Linked DNA regions of Homo sapiens: all the other regions are linked to region 2. Evidence: promoter capture Hi-C in 16 types of primary human blood cells and fetal thymus (Javierre and others, 2016). All regions are on one chromosome and are shown on one strand. Each heading gives the region's core, a stretch centred on a gene start or on the middle of the fragment in contact. The rest is flanking DNA. Distances are from core to core; before and after follow the strand shown.

What was found. The method cuts DNA at HindIII sites, captures the fragments that hold promoters and counts their contacts. A CHiCAGO score of 5 or more calls a contact.
Region 1: a contact is called between a fragment that was not itself captured here and the fragment with the promoter of UBXN2B in region 2, in 1 of 17 cell types (neutrophils). The highest score is 5.8, in neutrophils.
Region 3: a contact is called between a fragment that was not itself captured here and the fragment with the promoter of UBXN2B in region 2, in 1 of 17 cell types (neutrophils). The highest score is 7.9, in neutrophils.
Region 4: a contact is called between a fragment that was not itself captured here and the fragment with the promoter of UBXN2B in region 2, in 5 of 17 cell types (neutrophils, monocytes, naive CD8 T cells and 2 more). The highest score is 9.5, in neutrophils.

What each region holds. Positions count from the first base shown.
Region 1 is chr8:57,414,029-57,416,728 of GRCh38, forward strand. No RefSeq gene overlaps it. Among named protein-coding and RNA genes, the nearest start is that of LINC00588, 140 kb to the left of the region's middle. The HindIII fragment of the contact is 3,332 bases long and covers 1-2,700 here.
Region 2 is chr8:58,409,797-58,412,679 of GRCh38, forward strand. UBXN2B (UBX domain protein 2B) reads left to right here and starts at 1,565. Exons shown (of 8, transcript NM_001077619.2): 1 at 1,565-1,673. The coding sequence starts at 1,590. RefSeq lists enhancers at 1,561-1,620, 1,631-1,680, 1,961-2,010. The HindIII fragment of the contact is 12,087 bases long and covers 1-2,883 here.
Region 3 is chr8:57,447,480-57,450,320 of GRCh38, forward strand. No RefSeq gene overlaps it. Among named protein-coding and RNA genes, the nearest start is that of LINC00588, 170 kb to the left of the region's middle. The HindIII fragment of the contact is 8,507 bases long and covers 1-2,841 here.
Region 4 is chr8:57,430,853-57,433,552 of GRCh38, forward strand. No RefSeq gene overlaps it. Among named protein-coding and RNA genes, the nearest start is that of LINC00588, 150 kb to the left of the region's middle. The HindIII fragment of the contact is 1,481 bases long and covers 575-2,055 here.

The DNA.
Region 1 (2,700 bases), core at 62-2,561, 1.0 Mb before region 2:
AGGAAAAAAATGTATTTCAAAAGTTAGAAAAGACAGTACACTCTGAGAGACAGCGTTTAGGGCAGGCTGCTCGCAAGGATGAGACAGCGTTGAATATTGTTGAAGAAATTCTTTTCATGGGAGTTTTATATGATTATTTATAAGGCGATGGGAAGAAGTGAAGCTCGTAAGCATGTTTTGGGTGGTCTTTGGGGAGCACATGCTCAGTAGATGTACGTGATTGTTTATACATCACATGTCTCATTAGTATCGAAATCTCTACCCAGGAATGTGTTTCTTACTATTATAATGAGCAAAGGGCCAGTTTAAGGACAGGTAAAATCAATGTGTGCATGATCTCTACAGGGGAAATTTTCTACTGGATAGCTTTGTTTGGATGAACTCAATTACAATGTGAATGCTTAGGCTTATTGTGTTGACTGTACAGTCACCATGCTTGTTGTGTCTCAAGGACATTGTCCCTTCCCTGACTACCTATTCTACTCCAATTTCTCCCTAAGAGATTTTAGGGCCCATAATTACATGGGAAGTTGAGGGGCTAGGTCATTTTTTTGGCATTGTTTTTTGTTGAGTGGAGCCTTGTTCCTGCCTAGCCTTGTCCTTAGAGTCTGTTTTTGTCTGGTTTAACGGGATGTAAGCCATGGCATTTATGGGACTGGTAGCAAGATGTGAGATAGCTCATTAGCAGCCAAAGGTTGAAAGTCTTGTAAAACCATCATGTGGACCTGGAATTGTTGTAAGTGAGACAGTAAGGAACTAGCTAGTATTTTAAACAAAGTTGAACCAAAAGTAAAAGTTAAAAGTATGGTGATGACTGGCATCATTACAGGGAGAAAGGCAGACAGTAGTCATGGTTTTTAAGTTTTTATGTAAGGTTTTAAAGATTTAATTTTGTCTGCCTGGGTAATGATATTTAATATTTTTTTTGACTAAACAGAACTGATTGATGTGAAAGCAGTATTTTTAAAAAGATATAAATAGATATAAATATGTTTTTGTCTTGTTTTGTTTTGTTCTTTTTATCTGGCTGTGAGAAGATTTAAGGCTCTTTGGTTTGTAAGATTATAGCGGTCAGGGAGTCTAGCTGTTGTTGAAGTCTAGTGAGGCCCTCTGCTGTATGCCAGAAGGTCAATGTGATTTTTAAAGACAGTTAATGCTAGATTTTTAAGTCTGCTCCTCTGGTAGCTGACCCTGCTAATTTTAATAGAGAGGATAGAACTAACACTAAAGAAATAAAGGGTTTTCCTCGGAGGTGGATCTTGTGATGTTGGTACATGGGGAAAGGAGAGATGTGTCCGTCTATGCGAAAATCAGGGGGAAATGTAAGCAATGGCGCATCATCCCTTCCACTGTGGAGGGAGTTGTCAATATGCTGAAGATTTATAACTTCTCCACATTTTTTGTGATGGTGAAATTTGCGTTGTAAAATATTTTGTATTAAAGTGGTGAAAGTACTGGAGGGTTTTTTTAAAAAAATATTTGTGGTCTATAAATGAAAGGTTTTGTGTATTTAACACAAAACCTGGTAGTGGTTATTAGGTCTATTAATGAATGGTTAAGTTGGATGGTGGCATTAATACATGTTTGGAATAAAGTTTTGTTTTAAGGGTCCCACTACAAGGTGTAGTGATTTTTTGATCGGATATGTTGACAATTCTCAGAAGATATATTGAGATTGGATGGATAAAGGCTTCACATGTGAGCGTTGCCCCAGATAAGCTATAGATTCTAGTTTTGTTGACAGGGAATAGAGGCCATACCTGTTTGGGGACATGATAGAGCAGGAAATTGGTTGGACGAGTGAGTTGTTTATTTATTAGTTTAATTTTTGTAGAGGTATTGACTAAGATAGATGACCCAGTGACAACAGTTCAGCTACACTGACTCTTGAAATTTTCTTACGAAAGTGGTGGAGCTAACATGATTGTTGAAAAGGCAAAAGGGGAATAGTTCTGGATAAAAGATAAAATAAGAAATCTTTTTTTTTTCTTTTGGGACATTTGAACTATTGTTGATAGTTAAGAGGAAGAACTTAAAGAACCTATGACTTGACCCCACAGTTTTTTTTTTTTGTATTAACTATTAGGCCTGATATCCCCATTCTCTGAGGCAGTGAGTTTTTCTCTGGAGATGTGTTGGGATGCTAGGTCAGTCTTTTAAGGGCACAGGTCTGGCATATTTTTAACTTTTTGGTCATGCAAAGCCAACAAAGTTGAGTTAAGTTTAATAGACTGATGGTATGGTTATTTATTTTTCTAGTAGACAGGTCAGTGTCTCTAAAAGCCATTAGAGCATGGCAGGCAAGTGCCAAGAAAATGAAGATGTTATTTATTTTTCAACTTGGCTCCATTTGGGGTTGTTTTTTTGAATAGAAGTTTTCGATCCCCTATGGGCATGCAAGTGTAATTAGCAGCTTTTTCTGGTGTTTGTAAAGGTTTATTGTAAAGTTTAATTTTGGTCCTGTGGACCCGACTAGCTATTTTTTGTAGCTTTACAGCCATTGGTGTGCTAGTAGTACTTGTTAAAGTTTTTTTTTTTTTTTTAATCTATTTAGGAAGAAGTTGATCTGTTGGGGAGCTTTTTCTTTTTAAGTTTTTAATAGAACCCAGTCTCCAGGCAGGATTTTGGGGTTATGTTTTATTTGCCCAAGCAAGGGCAGCATCGTATTGTCATATTTTTAGATGGCTTGTTGTACCTAGA
Region 2 (2,883 bases), core at 315-2,814:
TGATCCGTCTGCCTCGGCCTCCCAAAGAGTTGGGATTACAGGCGTCAGCCACGACGCCCAGCCTCAAATGCCTTTATACATCAAAACGATCAGTATGCCAAAGCTCGGGCGGCAAGCTGTCGACTCCAGCACCTAGCATGGTGCACACAGCAGATACCAACGGAGTATTTCCCCTCACATGGCTCACATTTCCTTTGTAACCCTCCCAAGCAAAGCTCTACTGCAAGCTGCATCTTACCCGTTTACATGTCTCTTTTCCCTACTAGACTGAGTTTCATAATGACTGGGACTATTTCTTTTTACCTTTGCATCCCTTGGGCATAAAAGTGCCTAGGAGGCCAGGCGCAGTGGCTCACGCCTGTAATCCCAGCACTTTGGGAGGCCGAGGTGGGCAGATCATGAGGTCAGGAGATCAAGACCATCCTGGCCAACATGGTGAAACCCCGTCTTTACTAAAAATACAAAAGTTAGCCGGGCATGGCGGCACGCACCTGTAGTCCAAGCTACTCGGGAGGCTGAGGCAGGAGAATTGCTTGAACCCGGGAGGTGGAGGCTGCAGTGAGCCGAGGTCGCGCCACTGCACTCCAGCTTGGGCGACAGAGCGAGGCTCCGTCTCAAAAACAAAAAGTGCCTAGGATAAGAAGACCAGAGTCTAAATCAATTTCAGTTGAATGACGAGGGCTTGATAGTCTCGAGATCTGCTTTTTTTCTTTTTTGAGACGGATCCTCCCTGTGTCGCCAGGCTGGAGTGCAGTGGCGCGATCTCGGCTCACTGCAACCTCCGACTCCCTGATTCAAGCGATTCTCCTGCCTCAGTCTCCCCAGTAGCTCGGACTACAGGCACGCTCCGCCACGCCCAGCTAATTTTTGTGTATATATATATATATATATGTGTATATATATGTATATATATGTGTATATATATATGTGTGTGTATATATGTGTATATATATATGTGTGTGTATATATATATATATATATATATATATATATATTTTTTTTTTTAGTAGAGAAGGGGTTTCACCATGTTGGCCAGGATGGTCTCGATCACCTCGTCCGCCTCGGCCTCCCAAAGTGCTGGGACTACAGGCGTGAGCCACAGGCCCGGCAGAGTTCTGCTTTTAGCAAATTATTCCAAGCACTTTTTACGGTGTTTTTCACTCTCAGTGCTAATTCACGCTGTGGTGACGATGTACCATCCAATCCTTGATAGGAAAGATCAGAGAATCTGACCAAGACTAGATGGAGAGGTTGCAATTTTTCATCAGATGAAAAATCCAGAGGATGTTTTCATTGTTGAGCTAAATGAATCTGCAAGTCTATGCTGCCCTCTAGGGCGGCCTACAGTGCCTTTAGGCGAGTAGCAGGAGCAACACAAAACTTAACAGAGGTTTCCCTGCGGAGAAACTCCCTTTAAGAAAAAAGGAGAAACCAAAAAGGTGGGCCAGCACCGGAAGCGGGGGCGCGGGTTCGGGTAGCGGGGACGCGCACGCACCTTGCGCGTCTTCGCCCCTCCTGCGGTTGCCAGGCAACCGGCCCCGGAAGTTGCGGCAGGTGCGTCCGCAGCGGGCGCCGCTAGCCAGCGGAAGATGGCGGAGGGCGGAGGCCCTGAGCCCGGCGAGCAGGAGAGGAGGTCTTCCGGGCCGCGGCCTCCGAGCGCGCGGGATTTGCAGGTGAGGCGAGGAGCCGGGGGAGGGAGCGCGGCGGTGGACGCGGGCTGGTGACGGCGCGGGCTGGTGCGAGTTGGAGGCCACCTCTGGCCTCGGCGGAGCCTTTCCCCGACCCCGTCTGGGGATAGAATCCGGCGCCCGGTCTCCCGATGTCGGGTCTTGACACTGTGGTGGTCGTGAACACAAGTGCCCAAGCCTCCAGCGCTGGTGCTTTGTCTCCCTTCCACCCCACGTATGATGTAAAAATAGCTATTCGTTTAGAATGACATTTTGCGGGGTCAGTTGGTCGGTTCACGGGTTGATGCTTCCTTCTTGAGACTTACTCCAGAAGAAAGGTTACTGTGGCCGCAGGGAAGTAGACAGTCACCTGAACAGTAATGATACGTGATTTGTTCTTTTTTGTCTTGGATGCTATTTCTGACTTGCTTACTTAAATATAAAAATGGTTCCATTTTATCAGGTAGGTTTTTCTTTTAAAGGGGTGAAGGAAAGCGATGCACTCTATGCCCATACAGCCTAGTTGTCTAAGCTGTGGTCTTTAAAACATTGCACTGAAGAAACTGGGAAATAAAATTTCGTAATGTTGTGTAGGACACTAGTATTAGTTAGCTAAATAGTAGCGCACCAAATCCCGTTTTATCAGATACTAACGCCACTTTTCTCATTTTAGGCGTTTTTGTGTCTCATTATAAGATTATTGATAAAAATTTGACAAGTAAATATCAGTAAGGAGATACTAAGGAGAATCTTGGTAGAACAGTTTTACTGTATTACTTTACAACCACACTTCATTCTAATGTGAACAAACCACCATCCATTGTAACATACTGCTGAGCTTTGCGAATGTGGAAATAAGGACATCAAATCCTTAGTCGGTGCTGAACTCTATTGATGGGTAGGTATGTAAGTGTAAAAGACAGTTCTACCTTTTGGAAGCCTACAGATTTCTTCGGAGAAATAGGGTATGAATACTTAGCATAACATTTTAAGATGGAGTATGATTGGGTGCCAAAATAAGCAGTGCATAAAGCGAAGAATTTGGAGGCTGGAGAGATCAGTGTAACATTAGGAGGTGAACTTAATGTAGAATAGTTCCAGCTCCCATAGTTGGTTCAGTAGTAGTAAACAGTATCAAGGGATAGGAAGCTATTGTGTACCTCATCTTTCCTATTATAAACCCACATCACTAAGAGGCAGCATGGAGTTAGTAGTC
Region 3 (2,841 bases), core at 275-2,774, 960 kb before region 2:
AAAGTACCTGCTTGTGTCCATGGCTACCTCCAGGGTGGAAGGGATGGCCTCCCCTCTGGTGAGAATACAACCCAGGCACCTCAATGTTCATGAGAGGGTTCTCTGCTGCTTACACATCTGGTAACGGGAGTGTATTGATACCCTGTCCGTTACAATATTGCTTATCAGTCCTTCAGCTTCTTGTTAGACACTCTACTTGTGAACTGTCTGAATATGGTTCATTTCGAAAGTCTAGCTGAGACAACTGACATTTGCCAAGGGCCCTGTTCCTCAAAGTTCCCTGAGTTCTATTCATGTGTCAGGTCTAGTCTCGAGTTTCTTCATCACAAAAGCAAAGCCTCGCAGCGTGCCTCAGCTTCATAAGAAACAGTCGTGAGTAGAACTTCTGTGCCTTCTTTGTGAAACTACTGGAGGGACATTGTTCCAGGATGCCAGTCACTATATCCACCCACTTGAGAACTTGCTCGCAGACACCAGAGCCAGAAAACGTTTGCTTTTTGACAGACTAGAGTGTTTCATTTTCTAAGACAATGAAACATATGTAACTGTTGTAGGAAAATCCAGGTTCTTGCCACACAACCAGGAAAGATTAGGCTCACAGACACTTTGAAGGGCGAGGGGGACGAAATGTACTGGGCGAAAAGGAAAGAGGAAAAACAATACAGCAAAGTGAGAGAGGGGTTCCTGTTAACAGGCCCTCATCTCACAGTTTGAATTCCAGGTTCCCACCCAGGAACAGAAGGGCCAGGCTCCTTCTCCTTGCAAACCTGAGAACTTCCCATGGCTCCAATCTGTCCTGCCAGTGCACAGGTCAGTTGCAGAGTCTTCCAGACTGGCAGTTCGGTTTTTCAGCTGTCAAGTGTTTTATGCTTGAAGGCAGGGTTTTGTGAGGGGTAGGCCTTGGCTGCCACCTATCTCTATCATAACCAGTGTGCTTCCCTCTTTGACTTCATCCTCAAGATACTCAGAGCTAATTATGCGCTTATTTGCAGATTTTCTCAGCCCGAGATTTATTTCTCTTCTTTCTTTCTCTTTCTTTCTTTTCTCTTTCTTTCTTTCATTCGTTCTTCTTTCTTTCTTTTTCTCTTCCTTTCTTTCTTCTTTCTTTCTTTCCTTCCTTCTTTCCTTTCTTTTCTTTCTCTCTCTTTCTTTCTTCTTTCCTTCCTTTTCTTTTCTTCTTTCCTTCTCTTTTTGCCTTCCTGCCACTGCCTCCTCCTCCTCCTCTTTCTCCTCCTCTTTCTCCTCCTCCCCCTCCTCCCCCTCCTCCTCCCCCTCCTCCTTCTCCTCCCCCTCCTCCTCCTCCTCCTGCTCCTCCTCCTCCTTCTTCTTCTTCCTCTTTCTCCTCCTCCTCCTCCACCTCCTCTTCTTCTTCTTCTTCCTCTTTCTCCTCCTCCTCCACCTCCTCTTCCTCCTTCTTCTTCTTTCTTCTTCTTCCTCTTCTTCTTTTTAACAACTTTTTTTACAGCCAATATCTGGAGAAAACACTTTTAAGAAAATGTTAACAAATAGATATAGTAATTGATATAAATGTAAAAATACATGTTTCCTTATAAAGGGAAAAATAACCAGAAGAAGAGATAAAATCTTTTAAATCAGTTTTACACAAAGAATATTAAAATTTTGACAATAAAAGTGATCTTATTTAAGAGGATTCAGTTTACATCCTTTTCTAGGATCAACCAAATGATTAATGTCAAATCCCCATGCATAAATGAGTTTGCATAGTGCATAATTAAGAGTTAATGCATTTTTTCCTTACATTTTCCAAAATTATAATAAAATTGTATAACATAGAATTTATCATCTAAGCCGTTTTTATGTGTATAGTTCAGCAGGGTTAACTGTATTCACATTGTTGTGCAACTGATCTCTAGAATTTTGTCATCTTGCAAAACTGAAACAACAACTTCCCAGTTCCCTTTCTTTCTAGGTTTTGTCTACCACTGTTCTTTCTTTTTGTGAGTTTGACTACTTTAAATACCTCATATAAGTGAAATCATATAGCTTTTGTCTTTTTGTGATTGACTTTTTCACTTAGTGTAATGCCCTTCACCTATGCTGTAACATTTGACAGCATTCCTTCTTTTCAAAGGCTGAATAATATTCCAGTGTATGTATATACTACATCTTAAAAATCCATTCATCTGTTAATAGACATTGGGTTGCTTCTACCTTTTGGTTAATATGAATAATGGGTCAGGGAACATGGGTGTGCAAATACCTTTCTGAGGCTCTGTTTTCAACTATTTGGGATCTGTATCCAGAAGTGTGATTGCTAGGCCAGGTGGTAATTTTATTTTTAATTTTTAATATTTTAGAAACCTTCATACTGTTTACAATAGCAGCTGCACCATTTTACATTCCCACCTACAATGAACAAGGGCTCTAAGAGCTAATTCATTTCTTAAGGCCTGTTGCTTGTGTCTTGTGACTAGGAATACATACATGACCACTTCCAAGATTACCCCAAGCCTGCCTGTGTCACCACTTCCAGCACATGAAAGTGTACCCTGTTATCTCAACAGCACAGCAGGCATTGGATCATGCTCTTGGAGAAGCAGAGAAATGGGAGCTTGTACTGGCATCCAGTAGGCCCCCAGGGGGCTGAATTGTGCTTTCTTTTTTCAAGGAACAGCTTTGTTCTCATTTGGAGGACCCGGAATATACAGCAATATCAACTCCGCCAAAGAGAGAGAGTCCCTGCTGTGTGCTCTGTTCCATGACAGGCATAAGAGTCACATTAGTGGCAGCTCACGTCATAATCAGGGATCTTAACAGTTGCCTCCAGATGTGCCCAGCTGGGTTACCCCCTGATTCTTCCATAATTGGACAAACATACTA
Region 4 (2,700 bases), core at 65-2,564, 980 kb before region 2:
GTTATGACATAACAAAGTGTTCAGGGCTTGTATAGCATTTTCCCTACCCTAGCCTTTTTGTTTTTGGAGAAGTCCTGCTTCTTTTTAGTGGGAGACAGTATATAGACATTTGGATACTAAATGTGTGTATTGCTTTTGGGTGTCATTGTTTTGAGGTCCTTTCAGCAGAAAACCTGGAGAATACACACACGTACTCACAAGTGTGACTATGTCTATAATAGTATTTAAAAACCATGCGTTCAGGCTAATACCACCAATTCCAATTCAATGCCACAGGGTTCTTCTTAGCCTTTTGCTATTATGTATTTGTATGTCTCTTCTCAACATCATCAATACATGTACTCATTGCTAACTCCTATGATACATAGGAAGTTGTTCAGAATTGCTAACCCACAACACTGCTAAAACAAACCCTACTAGAGTTCAAGATTTGTCCACAATCAGTTTTTTCTTATAGTCAAAATATTCTGTTCAAAAAACAAATCAGAGTAAATTGATTTTTTAAAAACAAAATTATTTGTGTTAGTTTCCCTCCTCTTCACTGTGGTCATGCTCTCCATTTGAAATACAATTAAGCTTAATTGTTTCATTTGTGTGACCTTTTAGGACTTGCCCCCTTCGATTTTATTGACTCAGTTTAATTTTATTTAATTTTGGAGTATGTAAACATTAATGGGTTCAAAAAGTCCATACTATACAGATATATACTCAAACATTTGACTTTCTCTTCTGTATCCCTTCCAATAAATTCCTGACTACCTCAACAGGCAACCAATCTCATCAGTTTCAATTTTCTCTGTCCTGTGTTTCTTTTTACAAAAATAGGCTAATGGAGCCATACAGAGATATAGGTATCTATATCTATATCTAACATCTATATCTGTATGTCTTTCATACACAAAAGATATATATATATTTATATATATATCTTTTGTCCTTTTATTATTATCCTAAACAACATGTCCTAGAAATGACTTTGTATCAGTTTGTAGATATCTTCCTTATTCTTTTTTTATAGCTGCATAGTGCTCAATTGTGTGGATATACCATCACAGAGTTTTAATGGATTTTTACATCTCATTTGATCCTTGCAATACTCTGTGAAGTAGGAGAATGTGTGTTATTATACTCATTTCATAGTTGAGAAAAATAGATTCAGGGAGGTAACACAGATGAGTATTGACAGAGCGGGATCTGAGACTGCGTCTTAAGTTCAAGACCAGCCCTCCCCTGACTGTGCTGTGCTATTAGTCTTTTTTTTCCAACAACTTTTATTTTAAGTTCTAGGATACATGTGCAGGATGTGCAGATTTGTTACATGGGTAAATGTGTGCCATGGTGATTTGCTGCACCTGTCAACCCATCACCTAGGTTTTAAGCCCCACATGTATTAACTCTTTATCCTTATGCTCTTTCTCCCCCTACCCTCCTGGCCAGCCCCAGCATGTGTTGTGTCCCCCCACATGTCCCTTAGATTTCTTAACCCTCTACGTCTTAGGGTAACTCAGTCTTTGTGGGCTAGTCTGGAACAGTGCCCACTATTTATAACCTGTCTCTATGTTTAATGGTAATAATAATAATAATGTATTCTGAGTTCTGAACAATCACTTTAAAACAAAATTTTGTAAAGTAATCTACATCAGAGTCCTGAGTGTGCTTAAACTTGGTAACTTGGGAAGAGTTAATAAAGAACCTTGTTGTTGCAGGGAAGTAGGAATTAGAACAATAATGAGACACTCTCTCCTAACCATCTGACTGATCAAATTTAATAAGCCTAACTATACCAAGTGTTGTAGAAGATATAAAGAAACAGAAATGCTTGTATACTATTGGTATGCATTTTGTCAATCACTTTGGAGAACAATTTGGTAATAGTCTATACATTTACAGCTATACACAGCTTTAATGTAATAATTAACATATAGTGGGTTTATTAGTGCTTTTAAAAATGAATGAATTTATATATATTTTTTAATTTTCTCAGTTTTGATATCTAATATGGTAAATGTTGATAGCTGTAAGACACATATACAAATCTTGTTATGGTCCTAAATAAGCTTCAGGAGTGTAAACGGGTCCTGAGACAAAAATGTTTGTAAACTGCTGCCCTAGAGAAATGCAGGAATATGGACACAAGGCAAATTGTTTAAAAACATAGTCAGATTGTTGGTGATAGAGAAAGTGCAGACACAAATGTCCATCATGGGAGCATGATAAATGCAGTGCTGTATATTCATACAATGGAATTTCATACAGAAACCAAAATGGAACAACTTGGATAAATCTCAAAAACTGTTGCGTGAACAAAACAAGTCACCCAGAGTGTTGCATAGAATATGATACATTTTCTTTTCTTTTTTTTTCCTGCCTAGTCTGGGGTGCAGTGGCAATCACAGCTCACTGCAACCTCTGCCTCCCAGGTTCAAGCAAGTCTCCCACCTCAGCCATGTAAGTAGCTGGGATTACAGGTGCCCACCACCACATCCAGCTAATTTTTGTGTTTTTTGTAGAGACAGGGTTTTACCATGTTGGCCAGGCTGATCTCGAACATGGGGCCTTAAGTGATCTGCCCACCTTGGCCTCCAAATGTGCTGAGATTACAGGCATGAGCCACCATGCCCGGCTGACGCATTTTCTTTAACCTAAAAAAAATTGCAAAACAATTGTATGCATTGTGAATACATCCATGCATGTGCAATG